Regions from separate parts of the Homo sapiens genome. Here region 1 is linked to region 2. Evidence: promoter capture Hi-C in 16 types of primary human blood cells and fetal thymus (Javierre and others, 2016). All regions are on one chromosome and are shown on one strand. Each heading gives the region's core, a stretch centred on a gene start or on the middle of the fragment in contact. The rest is flanking DNA. Distances are from core to core; before and after follow the strand shown.

Region 1 (4,435 bases), core at 634-3,133, 720 kb before region 2:
TACCTTCTGCCCTAGGCCCTTTGCACAGGTTCTTCCCTCTGCTCAGGTTTCTTCTCTCTGACTCTCCCTTACACACAGTTCTGGTTTCCTCATAACCATTAATTTCTCAGGGAATCCTTCCCTAACTCCCAAGAAAAAAATAGATCCCTCCTTCCTGTTATATGCTTTCACAATAATAGCACACACGCACACAGAGAGCGCTATTGTTCAGAGCTCCTCTAAGCATTTCTGCTGAGAATTCATTTACTCCTTATGACAACCCAGTGAGGTAGAAATTATAATTATCTCCATTGTACAGATAAAGAAACTGAGTCACAGTGACTTGCCCAAAGTCACCTAGTTAATGAGGCAAAGCCAGAATTTGAACCCAGGCAGTGTGACTCCAGTGCAGCTTTTAAACACTATATTATTACATAAGAAAACACTATCCTTTTCCTTCCTGCACTTACCCGCTGTTTGTAACACTGTATTGTATGACTATTAGTTTAGTATGTGTCTCCTCCGTTAGACTGTAAGCTCTATTGGAGTAGAGACAATTCCATCACTAGACTGTAAGCTCTATAGGAGTAGAGACTATTCCATCCCCAATGGTAGGTACTCAATAAATATTTGCTCAAGAAAATGGGAAATGTTGAATGTGTACAGACACATAACATTTTCCATTCAAGTTCAAGACAAAGATAACCACATACCTGGACCTCCTAGGGTTAGGGACTCCTGCGCCCGTAAGAAACATGCTGCCCTCAGATTCTCAATGGGTCGGTGAAGTTAAGAACAGCTCACTCTAACATTCTCCAGCCTACCTCACCTTTTCCCTGCCATCCTTCCCTCAACAACTACAACAGCCTCACATTTAGTATTAATGGTATGTGCTTTGGTTTTAGCAATCTTTTAAAAACACAAAACAGGGTCAACCTCCTCGGAAAAGCCAGTCAGAGACTATCTAATGCCCTCAGAGCAAAGTCCAAACTCTGTTGGGGGTGGGGGAGTTGTAGGCCTTGTCTACTTCTTCATCCTCATGTGCCCTCATTTGTTCCCTCTTCCCCACCTCACCCCACCCCACCTGGACAGCCCAGCAGCGCAGACTAGGGGTTCTGGGTTTAGGGTTCCCAGGCAATAGCAGGGTGTTTTCTCATGCCTAGACTCATGCAGTGCCCTCTGCCAGTCCTCTCCTTTGCACCCAGCAATTTCGGGTGTCTTTATGCCTCAGCTTAGATATCTCTCTGGGGTTCGGTGCTCCTCCTTGGGGCGCCCATAGGCTGCATCTGTCCCTGACAAGGCACACAAGATATTGAACTATAGTTGCTTGGTTACGGACAGTCGTCTCTGTGAGCTTTGAGGGCAACTGCCATGTATTATGCATCTTTTGAATCCCCCTAGCCTAGCCGGGTGCTAGCCCAAGTTAGGTGCTTATTACAGATTTGTTCAGTTAGCGAATGAATCAATGAATAAACTGGCAATTCGTGTCTGGTTCATGGGCACCAAAAACCGTGCGAAATGGATAAATGAGCAGGTAATGGCAGTACAAAGTTCGGATCTAGAGAAAGATCCAGATTAGGGAGTTCAGAGATGAGTAAAACGCAGACCCAGCCATCAGAGAATTAACAAGGAAGATAAATCTCTTCAAGAAGCCAGCCGGAAGGATTAAAAGAGAGTCGTCCAAGTCCCGGCCGGCCCCGGGGGCGGGTCCCTGTCTAGCCCCGCATGCTCCGCGCCAATGGGCGGTATTGTTGATCACGAGTCTCCGCCCCCTTCGCCTTGAGGGGCGGGGCCGGCCACTCCCGGAGAGGGGACTACGTTTCCCGGCGCGCCGCGCGGCCGGAGCGAAAGAGGAGCCGGAAGTGTGGCGCGCGAGGTCTAAGGGCGCGAGGGAAGTGGCGGGCGGGGACTAAGGCGGGGCGTGCAGGTAGCCGGCCGGCCGGGGGTCGCGGGTATGGCCGAGGCCAGGAAGCGGCGGGAGCTACTTCCCCTGATCTACCACCATCTGCTGCGGGCTGGCTATGTGCGTGCGGCGCGGGAAGTGAAGGAGCAGAGCGGCCAGGTAAGCGTTCGTGGGCCGTGTGCGAGGGCCGCGTGCAAGATGTGGAGATCAGCGGCCCGCGGCCCGCGCCCCGTCCCCAGGCGACCCGGCAGGCGCCCGGAGCCGGGTCCCGCAGTGCTCGACGGCGCGGCCAGGGGTACCGGAGGAGCCGCAATCTCTGCCTTCCCACTGCGACTTCAGTTCCCCTGGGCCTCACTTTCCTCATCCGGGCAGTGGGTTGGGCCAGAAAGTGTGCTCGCAGGGGCCGAACTTTGTAATTCCCGCTTCCCTTACCTCCACGCCCTTCCTGGTAGCGGGTATTTTAAGTTTCCTAAGTCTCCCGCCACGTGGCTAGGCTCTGCGCGGCCCCCCCTGGGGCAAGGAGGTTGCTGCGAGTCTCGGGGGTGGATTGCGACCAGCCCCTCGGGGGAGCGCCTGGAAAAGGGACCCTACAGCCTCTTAGTTGAGCTGGAACTCAGGCCTTTAGCGATTGTCTGTACTGAGACGGTCAGCTTTGGTACTCGAACTCGTGGTACAGTCATTTCTTACTTGATTAATTCAACTGTTAATCCGGTACTCAGGGTGCTTCCTGGTGTTCGAATGGTGAGCACCATCTCTCAGCCCTCCTGGAGCTTACACTCTAGTAAGGTAGACAAATCAAAGAATCACAAAAGTGACTATATGCTTAGCACCGCAATAAGTGTTAAGAATGAGAGGGATGGGCCGGGCACGGTAGCTCACGCCTGTAATCCCAGCACTTAGGGAGGCCGAGACTAGCGGATCACCTGAGGTCAGAAGTTCGAGACCAGCCTGGCCAACATGGTGAAACACCGTTTCTACTAAAAATACAAAAATTAGCTGGGCATGTTGGCGCACGCCTGTAATCCTGGCTACTCATGTGGCTGAGGCACAAGAATTGCTTGAACCCGGGAGGCAGAGGTTGCAATGAGTCAAGATCGTGCCACTGCACTCCAGCCTGGGCGATAAAGCGAGACTCTGCCTCAAAAAAAAAAGAGAGATGGATGGCAGATTGCCCTGGTCAGGAATAGCTGAGGTGTAAATGCCTTGTGGTGGGAGGGAACTTGTGTACACACTGGCCTGGAGAAAGTCCACTCTCTTGAGCCCAGGAATTTGAGGATACAGTATGAGCCATGATCATGCCACTGCACTCCAGCCTGGGCAACAGAGCAAGACACTGTCTCAAAAAAAAATTTTTTTTAAGTCCATAGCAGGCCAGGTACGGTAGCTCACGCCTGTAATCCCAGCACTTTGGGAGGCCGAGGCAGGCGGATCACTTGAGGCCAGGAGTTCAAAACCAGCCTGACCGACATGGTGAAACCCTGTCTCTACTAAAAATGCAAAAATTAGCCATGCATGGTGGCATGCACCTGTAGTCCCAGTTACTCGGGAGGCTGAGTCAGGAGAATCACTTGAACCCAGGAGGCAGAGGTTGCACTGAGCTGAGACTGAGCCACTGCACTCCATCCTGGGTGACAAGGCGAGACTCCATCTCAAAAAAAAAAAAAACGTCCATAGTGGCTGAAGTGTGAAGTACAAGGGCCAGATGCCCCTGGGGAGATGGAGGCAGGGGCTGGCTGGAGTGGTCTGGTGGGCAGTTTGATCTTCCTTGGAAGAGCAGTGGTAAACCAATGGAGAGTTTTGAACTGGTGAGACAGTATCCTAAGTAGTCAGATCCCTTTGCCCTGTGGTGTAGGCTCTGCTCCTAATGCTTGCTCTCAGAACCTCCTGGAGGGACTAAAGGGTGATGGGCCCTAAGACGTTATGTATGCTTTTCCCAGTTTCTCTGAACCTCACTTGCTCTTCCTACCGCAGCTATGGTACTTCACAGATAAGGGGAGCAAGAGATAGTACCCATCTTCATTGGAGCAAAATATCCTGCCGTCATGGAGCACACATTCTAGTAGGAGCAGACAGGTGACAAATAGAAAAAGTTTAATAAGTTAATGATATAGTATATCCAATGATAGTTGGTGCTTGCTATAAAAGGCAGGCAAGGGGGATAAGGGATGTCAGACTTCGATTATAAGTAGGGTAGTCAAGGAAGTCTCATTGAGAAGGTGTCATTTGGGCAGAGACCTGAAGGAAATGAGGGAGTGAGCTGTGTAGTTAACAGGGGAGAGAACATTCCAGACAAGAAGAATAGCAAGGCCGCGTTAGAGGCAGGGTGGCCTGACACATTTGAGGACAGCAAGGAGGACACTTTGCCTGAGGTGGAGCAGAGGGAAACTGACTCTTGAAATCTTAGTGTTACCGGCTCACTGCTGGGCACTGACAGATGGTCTTGTTCAAACCAGATAGCAGCCTGCAAGGTAGGTATCGCTGTTGTCCCCATGTTAAGAAGAAATCTGAAGTTCGAAGACGTGACGAGATTAGTTCAGTCCACCCGTGCCCCAC
Region 2 (4,443 bases), core at 673-3,172:
AATACACTCGAGAGGACTAAGGAGGTCCCTGCTCACCCCCTTCTATTCTAGGAAAAGAGAAAGACAGTAAACAAATAAACACTAAAAATAACAATTTGCCAGACACTAAGTTCTATACATATGCTTTCTCATTCGCAAATAAGATTCTTTCATAGCATGATACACGTATGAGAAAAATAAAATAGTAACGTGACAGAAAGTGAAAAAAGGGGCTGCTTTGCATAAAAAGATCAGGGAAGGCCCCTCTGAGGAGCTGACATTTGAGCTGAGACTTGATCGATAAGGAAAAACCAGCCATGGGAAAAACGGGGAAAGATGTCCTGGGCAGAGGGAACAGCATGTATGAAAGCCTAAGGATGAGAACAAGCTTGGCTTGCTGGAGGGGGAAAAGCAGGCCAGCATGGTGTGACCAAATCACAGCGGGTACAGGAGTAAAACAGTAACCAGTGGGTTGGAGAGAGAGGCAGACAAACAACCTCCTACAACGCTGCCTCTCTCAAATCAGGTCGGCCTGACCCAACCAGGACATCCGGGCCCCAAGTCACAGGCAGCACTGGGGGTAAGGGTATGACTCAGACCCCACAGCTTCCTGGGGCCCCGAAAAAACTGGTGGGGGTATCCAGGGGCAGGCATCAACCTTCAGCATGAGTGCCATGCCATACCCATGGAACACCCAAGGCTGGGAGACAAACGTGGTTACATAAGCGTGTAGAACACTGCACACTCCCAGCGGCAGCTTCCAGAGGGGCATGATCACGTGCTTCCATGAAGTGCCAGTCCCTGATCACATTATTTTCCCGGGACACAGCCAGGACAGCAGCCTTGGTCAGGGGAAAGGGAACAGGGTCCAGGATTCAAGCGTTGCTAGTCTTGGGAAAGCCTTAACCTTCTCTGGGCCTCAGTTTCCTCATCTGAAAATTAAGAGTTGTTAGAAAGATTAAGTGAGGCCGGGCGGGGCGGCTCACACCTGTGATCCCAGCACTTTAGGAGGCTGAGACGGGCGGATCACTTGAGGTCAGGAGTTTGAGACCAGCCTGGCCAACATGGTGAAACTGTCTCTACTCAAAATACAAAAAAATTAGCCGGGGATGGTGGCGAGTGCCTGTAATCCCAGCTACTCGGGAGGCTGAGGTAGGAGAATCGCTTGAACCTGGGAGGCAAGTTGCCGTGAGCCGAGATCGTGCCACTGCACTCCAGCCTGGGTAACAGAGTGAGACTCTGTCTCAAAAAAAAAAAAAAGATTAAATGAGATACGGAATGTAAGCACTGTGCCTGGCACATAGTAAGCTATTAGCATTATCAGTTTTTTCACTGCCTCAGTTTCTTCTGTTGCAAAACAGAGACCACCACGGGGATGCTGAGTTTGTACTAATATTCTACCCTCCTAATACAATTCTACCCTCCTTTGTCAAGGATTTTTTTAAAACATTCTGAGTCCCCTTTTCTGACCTCTCATCAGATGCCGAATTCCCCTCTATCACACCCCATTGTTTGGAAAATGAGTAAGTGCTGATTAAATCCCATTTTGACCGTACTGTGAGAAAAAAATGATGCATTAGGAATCTACACATTTCCCTGCACTGTCATTCTGCAAGGGGGTGGGGAAGGACGTTGCTGATTCTTCTGCATCATCCACAAAAGTCCCTCCCTCCCCCTACCAAAACACAATCTCTCACCCAGTCGCACAAAATTCCCATCTGCTCCTGTACGCACAATGAATGTACAATGCACACGTGCACACAAATGTCCTACAGTGGAAAGCTCAGCCTTCATACTCCATCCCCAGAAGCACTCCTGGAAACTCATCCATCCTGCACATGCACACAAATGCCTCCAACAATGTGCATACAAAATATGTTCAACAGAAATAGTATAGTAGGAACTCTGGAGCCAAATGCCTGAGTTCATATCTGACTTTGCAACTCACAGCTGTGTGACCTCAAGCTCCAAGTACCTCGGTTTCCTAAAGTATAAAATGGAGATAATAACAATATTAATGTTTAGGATGGAAGTGACAATTAAATGAGTCTAATACACGTACAGCGTTAAGATCAGCACTTGGAAAGCGCCCAATAAAAATTATTATTTTCCTCCTCGTGACATATGTACACTGCTTCCACAACTTGATACGAAAACTCCTGACGCCGCGTAGGCAACTCGTCTCCACAGGATAGACACCCAAAGGGCCGCAGCGCCGCCCGCACCCGGAGGGTCTGCGCTCTCTACAACCGCCCCACGCCGTTCCCAGGCGTGCTACCCCGCGCAGTGCGCACGCGCGCCCCCCACCAGGCCCAGCGCCAAGCAGGGAGTAGCGGCTCAGCCCGGCTTGGCCGCTGGCGGAGACGCCCCGGGACCCCGCGCGCCGGGCCTGGGTGCACAAGCCACCTTCCCCAGCTCGCTCCCCGCCGCCACCGAGGCTCTGGACGATCTGGGCCTGGCCTCCCTTCCTCCCCTCCATCCCCGCTCCGGGCCGGCCGGCTTACCCGAGGACGGGGAGCTTGGGGACACAGCGCCCCGCTTGCTGCGTCCAGCCCCGAATCCAGGGACGGGGCAGCGGCCCGGGCAAGGCTCCGGCCCCCCGTAGCACTCCTAGGGCTCCTGGACGGGGGCAGGGCACCCGGGCCGAGGACGAGGAAGTGCCGGGGGCCTGGCCGGGCCGCCCCACCCCTGGGAAAGTCCCCGGAGACTGGCAGGCCACTCGCCCAATCGCGCCGCGCGCTCCGGGCGGGCCCGCGGCCGCCTGGGGTGGGACCGAGCGAGGTAAACACCGGCTGCCTGCGGTTCCGGGGGCCCGCGGTGTCTCTCGTCCCTTCGGCGGCCTTCCCCTCTAGGAGCGACTTCCCTGGGGCCACCGTCCCGGGCCTGCGCGGCGCCTTGCCGCACTCCCAGCGCCGGAAGCCCCTGTCGAAGGCCTGGGGCCACCTTGAAAGCCGGAATTTCAGAGCGGAGGCGAGCCACAGAGACCACCCAGCCCCTTCCTTGTGCCGAGGGGAACACAGGCCAGAACAGGGAGGGGACCTGCCAAAAGGCACGTAAGCATTTGGCCCTAAGCCAGAGCTGGAGCTCAGGCCCCCAGAGTTCCGTCCAGGGCACTCCAGGACTCTTCTTAACAAAGCTATAGAAATTCCGAGCTGAAAAGACCCATAAAGACTCTACCGCGAACATTTTTTGCTCCAGACATTGTAAAGGATTCCCAGACATCGTAAACGCTTTGCTCCAGACATTGTAGATGCTTTGCGTGCATTATTTTCTTCGCACAATCACGCTAGGGAGGTGGGTTTTACTACCTTTTCTTAAATAATATTTGAGTCACAAAAAGGTTAGATGACCTCAGTAAGGGGCTGAATCAAGATTCAAACCCGGGTGGGCAAATCCAGAGGCCGCCTTCCACCCTACCTACTTATATGTGGGCTAGATAATCCCAACAGACTGGGATTTCCTAGACCGGTAAGGAACATAAACTTGCTTTAAGGGTAGGAAAGCTTTTTAAAAGCTTATCCTTTTATTTTTAAAAAGAAAGAAAGCTAAATTTTAATTCCAAAAAGTGGAAGGTCTAACCTTGGAATAAAGAACAGCTCTTTAAACTAAATATAGCTTTATGAAAAACCTATTGCAAAAGACCCATTTCACTGGTACTGTTGAAAACTTAGTCATTGACAGGCCCTCATCCTCAAAAAGAATTAGGGGAAAGGATTTGGGGAACTGTTTAATACACACCCTCATTTTACAGAAGAGAGACCCATCAATCAACTGTGACTTCGCAATAATACACACACAGATACTTGCCCAAATTATATACCTAATCTGGGGATTCTCCTATAAGGCTTTGTAACCTCCTAGGGTTCCTTCAGTTAATTCAACGGTGTTATCAGATCTTCAAAACGATATTCATTCTAGTTTAATTATGAAAAGAATTACACTTATGCCTTGATTCAGAAGGGAGGGAGGGAGGAAGCGATGCAAACTCCAAAGCACCACTGAGTCTCACCACTGGGGGATCCTACAGAGAAACTGGGAATCCTGGCCCTGGTTTACATAGCAGCTCCCAGGCATCGTCTCCACCCATCAGGTCCGCACCTGCCAGTTTTCTTCCTGCTCTTTGTGCCTGTACTTCCCAATTCTCTTCCTGCAGGGCTCTCTTCCTATTCCCAACCCACATCTTCTCCACCCCCACCCTCTACCCACTGAAAACTAAAATCTACCTAAAAATGGCTGGTCTCTAATTACTTGCATTTTGTTTCCACACTATTTCAGCTGTTTTTATAGCATGTCTGGCCTTAGCCGGGCAGACAGTTTCATTTCTCAAAGTGTCCGCTGGGAATTCTCAAGCTTGACATAAAAAAATGGCACTCAGTCATCTTTTTGTCTGATTTCCTAGTTCTGGATCCTTTTTCTTAACAGTTCCAATTTGTGAGAAAACTCATTTATTTATAAAGTCGTGAC

Evidence for each region. Contacts are between HindIII fragments. The CHiCAGO score rates a contact against its expected background, and 5 or more counts as called.
Region 1: a contact is called between the fragment with the promoter of TCOF1 here and a fragment that was not itself captured in region 2, in 1 of 17 cell types (naive CD8 T cells). The highest score is 5.2, in naive CD8 T cells.

The regions. Positions count from the first base shown.
Region 1 is chr5:150,355,814-150,360,248 of GRCh38, forward strand. TCOF1 (treacle ribosome biogenesis factor 1) reads left to right here and starts at 1,884. Exons shown (of 27, transcript NM_001371623.1): 1 at 1,884-2,041. The coding sequence starts at 1,934. LOC105378226 (a long non-coding RNA gene) reads right to left here and starts at 1,607. Exons shown (of 4, transcript XR_944407.3): 1 at 693-1,607. RefSeq lists an enhancer at 902-1,071 and silencers at 1,672-2,011, 2,092-2,311. The HindIII fragment of the contact is 5,465 bases long and covers 1-4,435 here.
Region 2 is chr5:151,078,397-151,082,839 of GRCh38, forward strand. It overlaps TNIP1 (TNFAIP3 interacting protein 1), which reads right to left and starts at 2,638. Exons shown (of 18, transcript NM_006058.5): 1 at 2,484-2,638. RefSeq lists silencers at 468-517, 2,203-2,872, cis regulatory regions at 2,150-2,938, 2,438-3,207 and enhancers at 2,748-3,458, 3,173-3,232. The HindIII fragment of the contact is 3,115 bases long and covers 366-3,480 here.